3 separate regions of the Homo sapiens genome follow, and all the other regions are linked to region 1. The links are contacts of gene promoters, found by promoter capture Hi-C in blood cells and fetal thymus (Javierre and others, 2016). All regions are on one chromosome and are shown on one strand. Each heading gives the region's core, a stretch centred on a gene start or on the middle of the fragment in contact. The rest is flanking DNA. Distances are from core to core; before and after follow the strand shown. Region 1 holds the start of ANO7 (anoctamin 7). Region 2 holds the start of UICLM (up-regulated in colorectal cancer liver metastasis). Region 3 overlaps CROCC2 (ciliary rootlet coiled-coil, rootletin family member 2).

Region 1 (3,442 bases), core at 150-2,649:
AGCTTGGCCAAGCAGAGACCTCTCATGCAGATGCCCTGAGGCCCAGGGCCCCAAGGTCCTGCCGCCCAGGCTCTGCTGGTGCTGACAGGGAACCCGGCCTGCAGGGCCTTCCCGCTGTTCCGAGGCACAACACAGGTCCAAGAACAGGGCCCCTTGGGAGGTGCCAAGCACAGAGGGGCATAGGTATAAGGGAAAGCTGCAGCCAGGATGAGGGTCCGCCTGGAGGGATTTCAACAGGCAGAAGGGGGCACCTGGAACAGCAAGCTGAGCTTGGGGCTCCCCAGTGCAGTTGTGCATGGAGGGCGAGGAGCACGGGTGGTAGGTTCTCAGACACTGCCAGGCACCAAGGAGGAAAGGGGGAGGGGGAGGGAGAGGGGAAGAGGAGGGGCGGGGAGAAAGGATAGGAGGAGAAGGAGGAGGAGAGGGAGAAGTGGGGGGAGGGGGAGAAACAGGAGGAGGGGAGTGGGGAGAAAGGAGGAGAAGGAAGAGGAGAGGGAGAAGTGGGGGGGAGGGGGAGAAACGATAGGAGGAGGGGGAGTGGGGAGAAAGAGGAGGAGGAGGAGGAGTTGGGGGGAGAAATGATAGGAGGAGAGGGAGAGGGGAGAACGGATAGGAGGAGAAGGAGAGGGAGGAGTAGGGGGGAGAAACAATAGGAGGAGAAGGAGGAGAGGGAAGGTGGGGAGAAAGGATAGGAGGAGGGGGAGAAAGGAGGAGGGGGAGGAGGGCTAGGAGGAGAAAGAGGAGGGCTAGGAGGAGAATGAGGACGAGGAGGAGGGCGGAAAGGATGGGAGGAAGGCTAGGACCCCTCCTGTCCTTTTGCAGATGGGGCCCTGAGCATGGGATGTGCCTGAGGTCACCCCTCAGGCATTAGCAGAGCCAGCAGTGTGATCTGGGTCTCCCAATCTCCCCAGCCCCCGGGTGAAACCCTGGCCCACCACTCAGCACATGCTACGTAACCTCAAGGAGCCTCAGTTTCCCCCCACATAAACAGAGCTTACGAGGTCTGCCTGGCAAGGCTTCCAGCAGAGGTGGCACTTGTGGCTGTTCCTGTGGAATCCCACCTCCTCGAGACCCTCCAAGGCAGCAACTATGACAGCTGATGCCAGCCCTGAAATCTCTAAGCAAATAAGGTTCCCAGGAGGACGGCAGCATTTGCATGCGGGTGTGTGAAAGCCCAGCCAAGTGGGCTGCCTCTGTCTGCAGCTCTGAGCCCCACACCCCCTATTTAAACAAAGATAGATCCTGCTCCAGGAGCCGGGAAGCCTTGCCCTGGCCAGCTGTGCTGGGCACCTCCCCTGCCTGCTTCCTGGCCCACTTGCAGGCAAGGTGAGGGCATGCGAATGGCTGCCACTGCCTGGGCGGGGCTCCAAGGGCCACCCCTCCCCACCCTCTGTCCCGCAGTGAGGACGGGACTCTACTGCCGAGACCAGGCTCACGCTGAGAGGTGGGCCATGACCTCCGAGACCTCTTCCGGAAGCCACTGTGCCAGGTGGGGACCCAGCCTAGACGTGTGGGCCACAGGGAGAAGGTGGAGCGTTGGACTCTAGGGAGGCAGGGCGGCACCCCAGCCCACCGGGACTTTCACACACCCTGGCCTGTGGGGAGGCAGTGCCAGGGCCCGCCCTGGTCCCCAAAGCCCCTTGGGGCACGAGGAGGGACACACACTCAGTGCGGCTCTGGACGGGGTACACCCAGCTGGGGTTGGCTTCCTGCCTGCCCAGGGGCTCCCCCATGGAGCAGGTCCCTTCGTTGGGGTGGGGGGCATCCCCATTCTTTCTGCAGAGAGCTCTGAGGAGGGGCCCGCCTGCCCACCACAGAAGGATGGGGGCATGAGGGGCTGCTGGGTGGCCGAAACTCCTCGGGGACTTTCCTCCAGGAACACCCCACAGTCCGTAGTGAGGCTCCCAGCCTGGGGCCGGGGCCGAGTCCTAACACTGAGACCTGGCTCGGGCTTCAGGGTTAGGCAGGTGCAGGCGGCCCAGGCTCAGTCTCTGTCCCTCTGGGCCTCCGCTAATGTGAAGTGAAGGGTAGAACTAGAAGGCTGCCCCTCCGACCTCCTGCGGCGCCTCCATGGTCACACCCTCCGGTCATCGTCGCAGCTCCAAATGCCAGCCCCAGCTCGAACCCTCTCCTTCCAGGGCCACAGATGTCGTGCTCCTGGCCCCGTTTTGCCAGCCCAAGACTAGGAGCCACGGCACCTGTCCTCCCACAGAGAGAGACCCCCGGGGCGAAGGTGCGGGAGGAAGCTGGGACCCCCAAGAGTTGTGAGGCCGGGCTCCATCAGGCCCGCCTTGCTGGGGAGCTCAGGGCCTATGGGTCCTGGCACTGGGTCCTCAGGCCATGAGCGAAGGCAGGCGACTTGAGGGGTTTCCTGTCCCTGGCTCACATGGCTCCACCCTACGGATAAGAGAGGGAGAGGTGTCTGTACTCCAGGCCCACCTTTCTGGGCCTTCTCAGGCTCCACTGAGTACCCAGGCAGAGTGGACGGCATTCAGGGCTGGGGGACACGGGCACTCACTGGATGGACAGACAGACGCCTGCTGTGCCAGGCCTGCCAGACGCTCCCGCCCCGGCACTGGTTTCTTCCTGGAGCTCGTGGCTGGCTAGGGGGTTCTCCATGTGCTCATGGCCAGGAGAGTCTGCCGAGCCAGCCCAGCCCCATTCTACTCCGAGTCGAGTCTGTAAAGTGAGCTCACTGCAGGCAGTGTGGTGGCCCCAGGAACGGGTCTCACCCATCCCCTCTCTGACCCCCATCCCCACCCGGCCTTGCTGGGTGCAGGAGCAGGATGCTGCGGCGACGGGCCCAGGAAGAGGACAGCACCGTCCTGATCGATGTGAGCCCCCCTGAGGCAGAGAAGAGGGGCTCTTACGGGAGCACAGCCCACGCCTCGGAGGTAACAGCACCCAGGAGACTGTGGTGCGACTTGAGAGGTCCTCCCCTGCCTGGGTCTATGCCCCCACCCTGGGCCCAGAGCCTCTGGGGGTGGATGGGCATCACCGTGTTTCTCCTGCATCCCCCGGCAACCCCCAAGCCCTCGCCACCCAGTCCTCAACACACACAGTCAGATCACCGCTCTCCTGGCCTGGCCTGGCTGTGGAGAACCGAGCAGAACCCACTGATGTTCAGACAGGAGCTCCAGGAGGGTAAGGGGGGCCTGGCCAGGCAAAGGCAAGACCAGGGCGGGGCCCTCCCTGTGGTGTCAGTCCCAGTCAGTGCAGGGCCACAGCAGCACCCAGGGCCATCTGTAGGGCTCCACCTTGTCACTAGGAGGCCATGGATGCGCTGTGAGCCTGTGGGGAGAGGCTGGGTCCCGGGCCTTCAAGGCCATGCGGGAGGCCCTGGCCGTGGAGGGCCCTCTTCCTGGTTCTCCTGGGCCACACGTCTGCCCCAGCAGCCTGCGGGTGGACACGGGACCCCTTCCTGCCGCCCCAAGCACAGCTG
Region 2 (3,407 bases), core at 72-2,571, 220 kb before region 1:
ACCTCCCATGGCTGGGGCAGCAGAGAGGAAAGGGGAAGGGCGTGTATCTGTCACTGTGTTCCTGTCCACGACCCCTCCGCTGTCACCTCCCGCAGGCTCCGACAGCTCCCAGGCTCTCCCTGGGCAACAGGGTACCAGCCCCCCAGCCAGGCCCCACTCGCCCCTCCGATGGCCCTCGCCCACACCCGGAGGCCGCAGCTCAGAGCTCATGGATGTGGCCACCGTGCAGGACATCCTGCGGGACTTTGTGCAGAAGCTCCGGGAAGCCCAGCGGGAGCGGGTAATGGGGGCTGGGGTCCTCCCGCCCACGGCGGCACCCCCCGGGGGTCTCTGGGAAGAACACCTGCTGTCCATCCATCCGCGCGTCCCTGGGTCTGAGGGTCAGTGTCCAGGCCGTCCTGTTTGTTGTGATAAACACCAGCACCACCATGGCCCCCAAGCCCAAGTGCCTTGGGTGGCTGGAGGCCGCCCCCTTCCTTATACCAGGCTGAAAAGCCCCTGGAGCCAGGCCCTGCTGTGACACCCACCAGGGCCCAGGGTAGGGCATTCTGCAACTCATGCCACCCCTGAAGAGCTGCCGGGGCTGGGCAACTGCAGGACAGAGCCAGCAAGCTCCCCTCAATGCTCCCAAAGACCCCTCCGGTGGGGCCAAGCTCCCCAGTGGCTGCTCCTGGCTTCAGGGCTCCCACAGAACCACCCGTGAGCGGCCCCCTCCCACCTCGCTGGATGACTCCAGTGGGCAGGACTGTGGGAAAGACAGAGGCAGGCCCTGAGCCCTGGCCAGGGTCCTCTGTGCACACTCCTTCCCTTCGGGCCCACCCTCCCACCGCTGCCAGCCCCAGGGGGCAGGGTCCCGTCTGCACTCAGCCCCAAGTCCCGCCAGGGGCAGCCCCTACCGGTCCCCCTGACCACAGGCTGTGGGCCGCCACCTGCCAGCTCTCCCACACCACACCTGTGCTTGAAACCTGGACCCTTTAGGCCGAGTCTCACTGGGCGCCTCCACCTCCCCAGGCCTGCAGGTCAGCGCAGCTTCCCAGTGTGATCACCTTCCCCGCACCTTCCCCGAGCCCACGGCCCACACCACCCACTGCCCTGCCCTGCACACCTGCAGGCCAGACCGTGAGCGGCCCCAGCTGGCCCCGACCCTCTAGCAGACACCTTGGCCCTCCACCCGCCCATTGGACTGCCCCCGCTGACCTCAGTCCTTCTGCCCAGGATGACTCCCGCATCCAGATGGCGACCCTGAGCAGCCGGCTGAGCGAGGCAGAGTGCAGGTGTGCCCGGGCCCAGAGCCGCGTGGGGCAGCTGCAGAAAGCCCTGGCTGAGGCGGAAGAAGGTGACCTCCCTTGCCCTGCCCCGCCCACCCTGGGAGTGGCTGTGAGAGTGGCACCACCATGTCCCCACTGCTGCCGGCTATAAGCTTTCAGTCCCTGGGGCAGCTCGGTGGGAAGGGAGCCTGGGGGCAACACCCAAACCACCAGGCCTGGCGAGGCTGGGTCAGCGCTTGGCATCGGAGTTCTCAGCAGCGACTTCCCCAGCACAGAGGAGTGACGTCCACAGGCCCATCAGGGCCCTCCCGATCCGGCCCCCAGCATCCTCTGCCCCCCTGCCCCACCCTGGCCTCCTGCAGTTCCCACTGGGGGCCTTTGCCCTGGCTGTGCCCTCTGCCTGGCACCCTCTCCCCCAGACAGCCACACGGCTCTCCCCGGGCAGGCCCTGCCCCTCGTCACCCCCTCAGAGAGGCCCCTTCCTTCTGCCCCCCACTGCCTCACACTCACGAGTTTCTCTGCTTATTGCCCCTCAATTAAAGGAAAGAGGCAGGAGGGAAGGATGGGTGGGAAGCCGGGACCCTGGGGCAGCCCCAGGACCCTTGAGCTGCAAGGATGGACCCCCACCTCCACGTGGGAGCCAGTCACTCAAGTCCACAGAGCCCTGCATTGCCTGCCTGTGACCTGGGAGGGGCATGGGGGCCCCTCAAGCCACCCTGCTTGCCCCACAGGCCAGCGCCGGGTGGAGGGCGCGCTGAGCAGCGCCCGGGCAGCACGTGCCCTGCAGAAGGAGGCGCTCCGCAGGCTGGAGTTGGAGCACCTGGCGAGCGTGCGTGCGGCAGGCCAGGAGAAGCGGCGGCTGCAGGTGGGGCAGGCGGCAGGGTGGGTCCCAGGTGGGGCACAAGAACAAGGCCTCTCGGTCACCCTCACACCCTGCAGGGAGGCCACAGGGCCGGGAGGTGGGAGAGAGGGGTCTGCAAGGGCTTCTGTGGGTGTTCGGGGCTGGAGCCAGCCCGGTGGGGCCCTGGGGCAGAGGTGCAGGCTGGGCTGTGGCAGGCGGCTTTGGGGTCATCGGGACTGGGGTCGTCCTTAGCAGAGCTGTCCTTACGGTGGTTCTAGCCCTTGTTTTACAGGTTGGGGAAACTGAGGACTTGGCCCTGGGGGCACAGCGAGTGGGGGGCAGAGCCCCAAGTCTAGGCCCTTTCTTCTTGCTGAGGCCACAGCGGCAGGCATGGGGCGGCCCTGGCCCAGCCTTGGGGCTCTTTATAGGGTCACACTGTCCTGCTCCAAGACCACTTTTCATTCCATGTGGCTCAGACACAGAAGGGGCCTCTCAGGAAGGGCTGAAGTCAGTGTCCCTACATGCCAGGCTTTGTGCTGGGGAGGTGCCCGCTGGGTCTGAGGTTTTCAGGTGAGGAGCCTGGGCCTGGAAATGGAACGGCCAGGCAGTGGTGGATGGAGGCCTGGCCCAGGCCTTGGTCCTCAGTGCTGGTGGGGAGCCCCAGGCCCAGCCAGCCCAGCCCCACAGGTCCAAGCAGCCCCCGGGGTGTCCTGAGATCCTCTTGTCAGGACTGGGCCAGGGGACAACTGTTCCGCTCCAGAGAGCTCCCTTGCAGGCCCCAGGGGCCAGAGAACAGCGTGCCTGGCTGAGGCTCCCCAGGGCAACTGCCCCCAGGCGTCCCTCAACCCATTCTGGAAAGAGGGGGCCAGCACAGTGCAGAGGAGACAGGGCACAGAGACCGGGGAGCCACTCCTCTCCAAGTGTCCCTCCAATGAGGGAGGCCTGGGTGAGCCATCAGGAGGGACGGCCTTGCAGGTTGGCAGAAAGGCCCCAAGGGCAGCCGGCCAGGCCTGTGCTGTTCCACGCGGGGCTCAGCCCCGGAGCCTGGTGGCCCTCAGAGGCCACCAGAGGGCTGTCAGCACTCAGACTAGCAGGCAGGCTCTGAGTTCCCAGTAGGCCCTGAGCCTCTGAGGAGGTGGCTTCTGCAGGGGAGAGGGGAGGGGGCAGAGAGCAGAGGCCAGGCTGCAGAGAGAGCAAGGTCCTCATTAGCCAGCAGTTTGGAAATTTCTGTTTTGGAAAGACCCTTCTGGTGACAGCTGCTGGGGCAGTAAGACTAGAGACGTCTGTGGAAAGACCCA
Region 3 (3,931 bases), core at 707-3,206, 250 kb before region 1:
TAGATGCAAAAAAAAATACTTAGGAATATGCCTAACCAAGGATGTGAAAGACTTCTACAAGGAAAACTACAAAACACTGCTGAAAGAAATCATAGACGACACAAACAAATGGAAACACATCCTATGCTCATGGACGAGTAGAATCAATATTGTGGAAATGGCCATACTGCCAAAATCAATACACAAATTCAATGCAATTCCCATCAAAATATCATCACCATTCTTCACAGAACTAGAAAAAAATCCTAAATTTCATATGGAACCAAAAAAGAAGCCACAGAGCCAAAGCAAGAACATGCAAAAAGCAAATCTGGAGGCATCACATTACCCAACTTCAAACTATACTATAAGGTAACAGTTACCAAAACAGCATGGTACTGGTATAAAAATAGGCACATAGACCAATGAAACAGAATAGAGAACCCAGAAATAAACCCAAATACTTACAGTCAACTGATGTTCGACAAAACAATCAAAAACATAAAGTAAAGAAAGGACACTCTATTCAAGAAATGGTGCTGGGATAATTGTCAAGCCACATGTAGAAGAATGAAACTGTGTTTCTTTTTGTTAGTTTTAGTGATTACCCTAAAATTATGATATGCACAGTCTATATCCAAATATTATATTACTTCACAAACAATGTAAGACCCTTCCAGCAATACATTCCATTCATCCCTTGCTATGTTTCGAATGTGTCCCCTCCAAAATGTAGGTGTTGAAACTTACTAATTGTGATAGTATTAAGAGATGGGACCTTTAAGAGGTGATTTAGGCCATAAGGGTTCCACCCTCATCAGCGAGATTAAAGCCTTTATGAAAGGGGCTTGCAGCATCATTTGTGTCTCACTTTCCCTTATGCCTTCCACCATGTGAAGGTGCAGCATTCTTCTCATCCGGAAAATGCAGCATCAAGGCACAGCCTTGGAAGCAGAGAGTAGTCCTTGATAGACAGCTGAACCTGCCAGCACCTTGATTTTGGACTTCCCAGTCTCTAGAACTGTGAGAAGATAAATTAATAAATTTCTGTTCTTTATAAATTACCCAGTCTCAGGTACTTTGTTATAGCAGCACAAATTTACTAAGACATCTCTTCCATACTTTTTGCTCTTGTTGTTCTATATTTTATTTCTGTGTGTGTTGTTATAAACCGTACATTACTTTATTAATACTTTTTACTTTTAAATGATTATTTTTAACCATTCACACACACACACTCAATCATCTTTTCACAAACATTTCAGTTATTTGGTAACATTCTTTTCCTTCTTGAGTATGTTTTTAAACATATTAATTACAATACTTTTTGGGTCTTTGTCTGATAACTCTAACATCTGGATCCCCTAATGAGCTATTTCTATTGTCTTTTATTTATTTATTTTCAGTAGTTTGGCCTTGTCTCCTAGTATGCTTAATATTGTTTGTTTTTTTATTATGCTTAATAATTTTTGATTGAATGACAGACTTTGTGTTTTTGTAGATATAATTCATAGAGATAATTTAAGGCTTTGAATGATATAAGCTTCTTCTAGAGGGAATTTGCTTTTGACTTTGGGAAATCAGAATAGGGATAAATTGCCTTTATCCAGTCCAGGATTTAGCTGCTTTGTAACTGTACTTCAGTCTTTTGTGAGGAGTCGTCTATTTCTGGCTTATCCCAGGGTATAATATAACTCTCCTATGTTCCTAATGGGAAATCTCAGGTGTTTACCAGGGTTCCTACTCTTTAGTTAGCCCTAAACTCCAGGTTTTATTTTCTTTTTATTTATTGTCTTTTTTTTATTATCTTTATTTCAGATAGGACTTTCAAAAGTACTATCTGACTTCTCAGACTGTCAGCTGCTATTTTTTTGTTCAGATTCGTAGTCTCCTGGTCCTTTACTACTTCTGAATTATAAAAAATACATACTTTTTCAAAGCAGTACCATTTATTTTATTTTCTGAGACAGGGTCTTTGTTGCCCAGGCTGGAGTGCAGTGGCATGACCATGGTTCACTGCAGCCTCGACCTTCTGGGCTCAAGTGATCCTCCCACATCAGCCTCCCGAGTAGCTGGGACTACAGGCACACATGACCACGCCCAGCTAATTTTTGTGTTTTTTGTAGAAATGGGGTTTTGCCATGTTGCCCAGGCTGGTCTCAAACTCCTGGGTTCAAGTGATCCACCTGCCTCAGCCTCCCAAAGTGCTGGGATTTTGCGCTCAGCCAGCAGTACCATTTTTTAAAATCGCAATATACAATCTCAGGCTTACCTCAAGGCATTTCCTTGCTCTCTGATATCCGCTCTTCTTTTCGTTCCCCGGCTGCTTTGGTATATCTGAACTCTAAGTTATATCTCTTCAATCTCATAAGCCTGCTGAAATCTTAGGCCATGTTCCCAGTCTTTTAGCTAAAGCTTTTTTTTTTTTTTTTTAATTTTTAAGCAGAGTCTTGCTCTGTCGCCCAGGATGGAGTGCAATGGGGTGATCTCGGCTCACTGCAACCTCCGCCTCCTGGGTTCAAGCAATTCTCCTGCCTCAGCCTCCTGAGTAGCTGGGATTACAGGCATATGCCCGGCTAATTTTTGTATTTTTAGTAGAGATGGGGTTTCGCCATGTTGGCCAGGTTGGTCTCGAACTCCCGAGCTCAGGTGATCTGCCCACCTCGGCCTCCCTAAGTGCTGGGATTACAGGCATTAGCCACCAAGCCCGGCCTAAAGCTTTATTCTTGGATACTGAGGCTCTACACCCCCTGTCACTTAGGACTTGGCAGATACCTCAAAGGGGAAATCTGTTGTATTCATAGAATTTCAGACTCACTTTAATATATTTCTCTCTGTAGCCTGAACACCTGGGACCTGACTGCGTTAGTATCTCTCTAATGCTTTTAAACAGATTATTGGATTGTACGTTGTATTGCTTTTCTAGTTGCTTTAGATGGGAGGGTTGGTTTTCAACAACCCACCTCACCATTATCAGAAGCAGAAAGTCCTGGTTTTTACTTTTGAAGAATGTTTTCGCTGGGTATAGAATACTAAAATAGCCATTATTTTCTTTCAGAAATTTAATGAAGTCATTCCATCATCTTCTGGCCTTCATTGTTGCATAGAAAGCAAATGTCAGTCTTGTTCATTTCACGCCTATGTGTCTTTTTCCCTTTGTTTTTTAAAAAACATTTTTCTTTATCTTTGGTATTCAGAAACTTTACTAAGTTGTATATATGTGACATTTTCTTTTAATTTATCCTTTTGGGGGTTACAGCTCATTTTAAGTCTGTGGCTAGATGTATTTTATTAGATTTGGAACATTCTTGGCCTGTATCTGTTCAAATGTGCCCTCTCATCTCCTTTTGAGGCTGTAATTACACATATGATGGGCATTTTTAGCTTGTCCTATATGTCTATAACATTCTTTTGTGTATTTTCTATCCATCCTTCTATCTCTTTATGATTCAGTCTGAACACATTCTTTGTCTCTCTTCCAGGTTATTAGTCCTTTCTTTTATTCTGTCTAATCTGCCATTGTCTATTAATTTTTTTTTTACTTTTGGTTATTATATTTTAAATTGTCTTTTTTATATTTAGTATCCAGTTCTATTGTTAAACTTTACGTCTTGCTATCCATCTTCTTGAACACGTGAATCAGCTATTTTAAAGTTTGTGTCTGATAACTCCAATATCTAGATAACCAGGGTAGGAGGATCTATATCTATTTTCTGTTCTTATTAGTGGTTTTTTTGTCATGTGGTCCTGTCTCCTGATAGGCCAGATCTTGATTAGTCAATCTTATATATAATAAATTATAGAAATAATTTGAGGATCTTGATGATGCGATTCTTCTTCCAGAAAGCATTTATTTTTGTTCTTGTTGTTGTTTGTTTGTTTGTTTTTGAGAGAGGGTCTCACTCTGTCACCCAGGCTGGAGTGCAGTGGCATGATCTTGGCTCACCATAAC

What was found. The method cuts DNA at HindIII sites, captures the fragments that hold promoters and counts their contacts. A CHiCAGO score of 5 or more calls a contact.
Region 2: the fragment with the promoter of UICLM here is called in contact with the fragment with the promoter of ANO7 in region 1 in 10 of 17 cell types (naive CD8 T cells, naive B cells, naive CD4 T cells and 7 more); the score reaches 10.6 in naive CD8 T cells.
Region 3: a contact is called between a fragment that was not itself captured here and the fragment with the promoter of ANO7 in region 1, in 5 of 17 cell types (endothelial precursors, naive CD8 T cells, naive CD4 T cells and 2 more). The highest score is 5.9, in endothelial precursors.

The regions. Positions count from the first base shown.
Region 1 is chr2:241,187,278-241,190,719 of GRCh38, forward strand. It overlaps ANO7 (anoctamin 7), which reads left to right and starts at 1,400. Exons shown (of 25, transcript NM_001370694.2): 1 at 1,400-1,489; 2 at 2,780-2,894. The coding sequence starts at 2,787. LOC105373971 (a long non-coding RNA gene) reads right to left here and starts at 1,145. Exons shown (of 3, transcript XR_924064.3): 1 at 999-1,145. RefSeq lists enhancers at 670-1,354, 1,355-2,038, 2,972-3,442. The HindIII fragment of the contact is 15,628 bases long and covers 1-3,442 here.
Region 2 is chr2:240,966,130-240,969,536 of GRCh38, forward strand. It overlaps UICLM (up-regulated in colorectal cancer liver metastasis), which reads right to left and starts at 1,322. Exons shown (of 9, transcript NR_033841.1): 1 at 1,198-1,322. It overlaps CROCC2 (ciliary rootlet coiled-coil, rootletin family member 2), which reads left to right. Exons shown (of 32, transcript NM_001351305.2): 25 at 96-280; 26 at 1,216-1,336; 27 at 2,000-2,133. The HindIII fragment of the contact is 9,726 bases long and covers 1-1,418 here.
Region 3 is chr2:240,941,088-240,945,018 of GRCh38, forward strand. The region is part of intron 14 of CROCC2 (ciliary rootlet coiled-coil, rootletin family member 2); the gene reads left to right. Among named protein-coding and RNA genes, the nearest start is that of UICLM, 24 kb to the right of the region's middle. The HindIII fragment of the contact is 872 bases long and covers 1,521-2,392 here.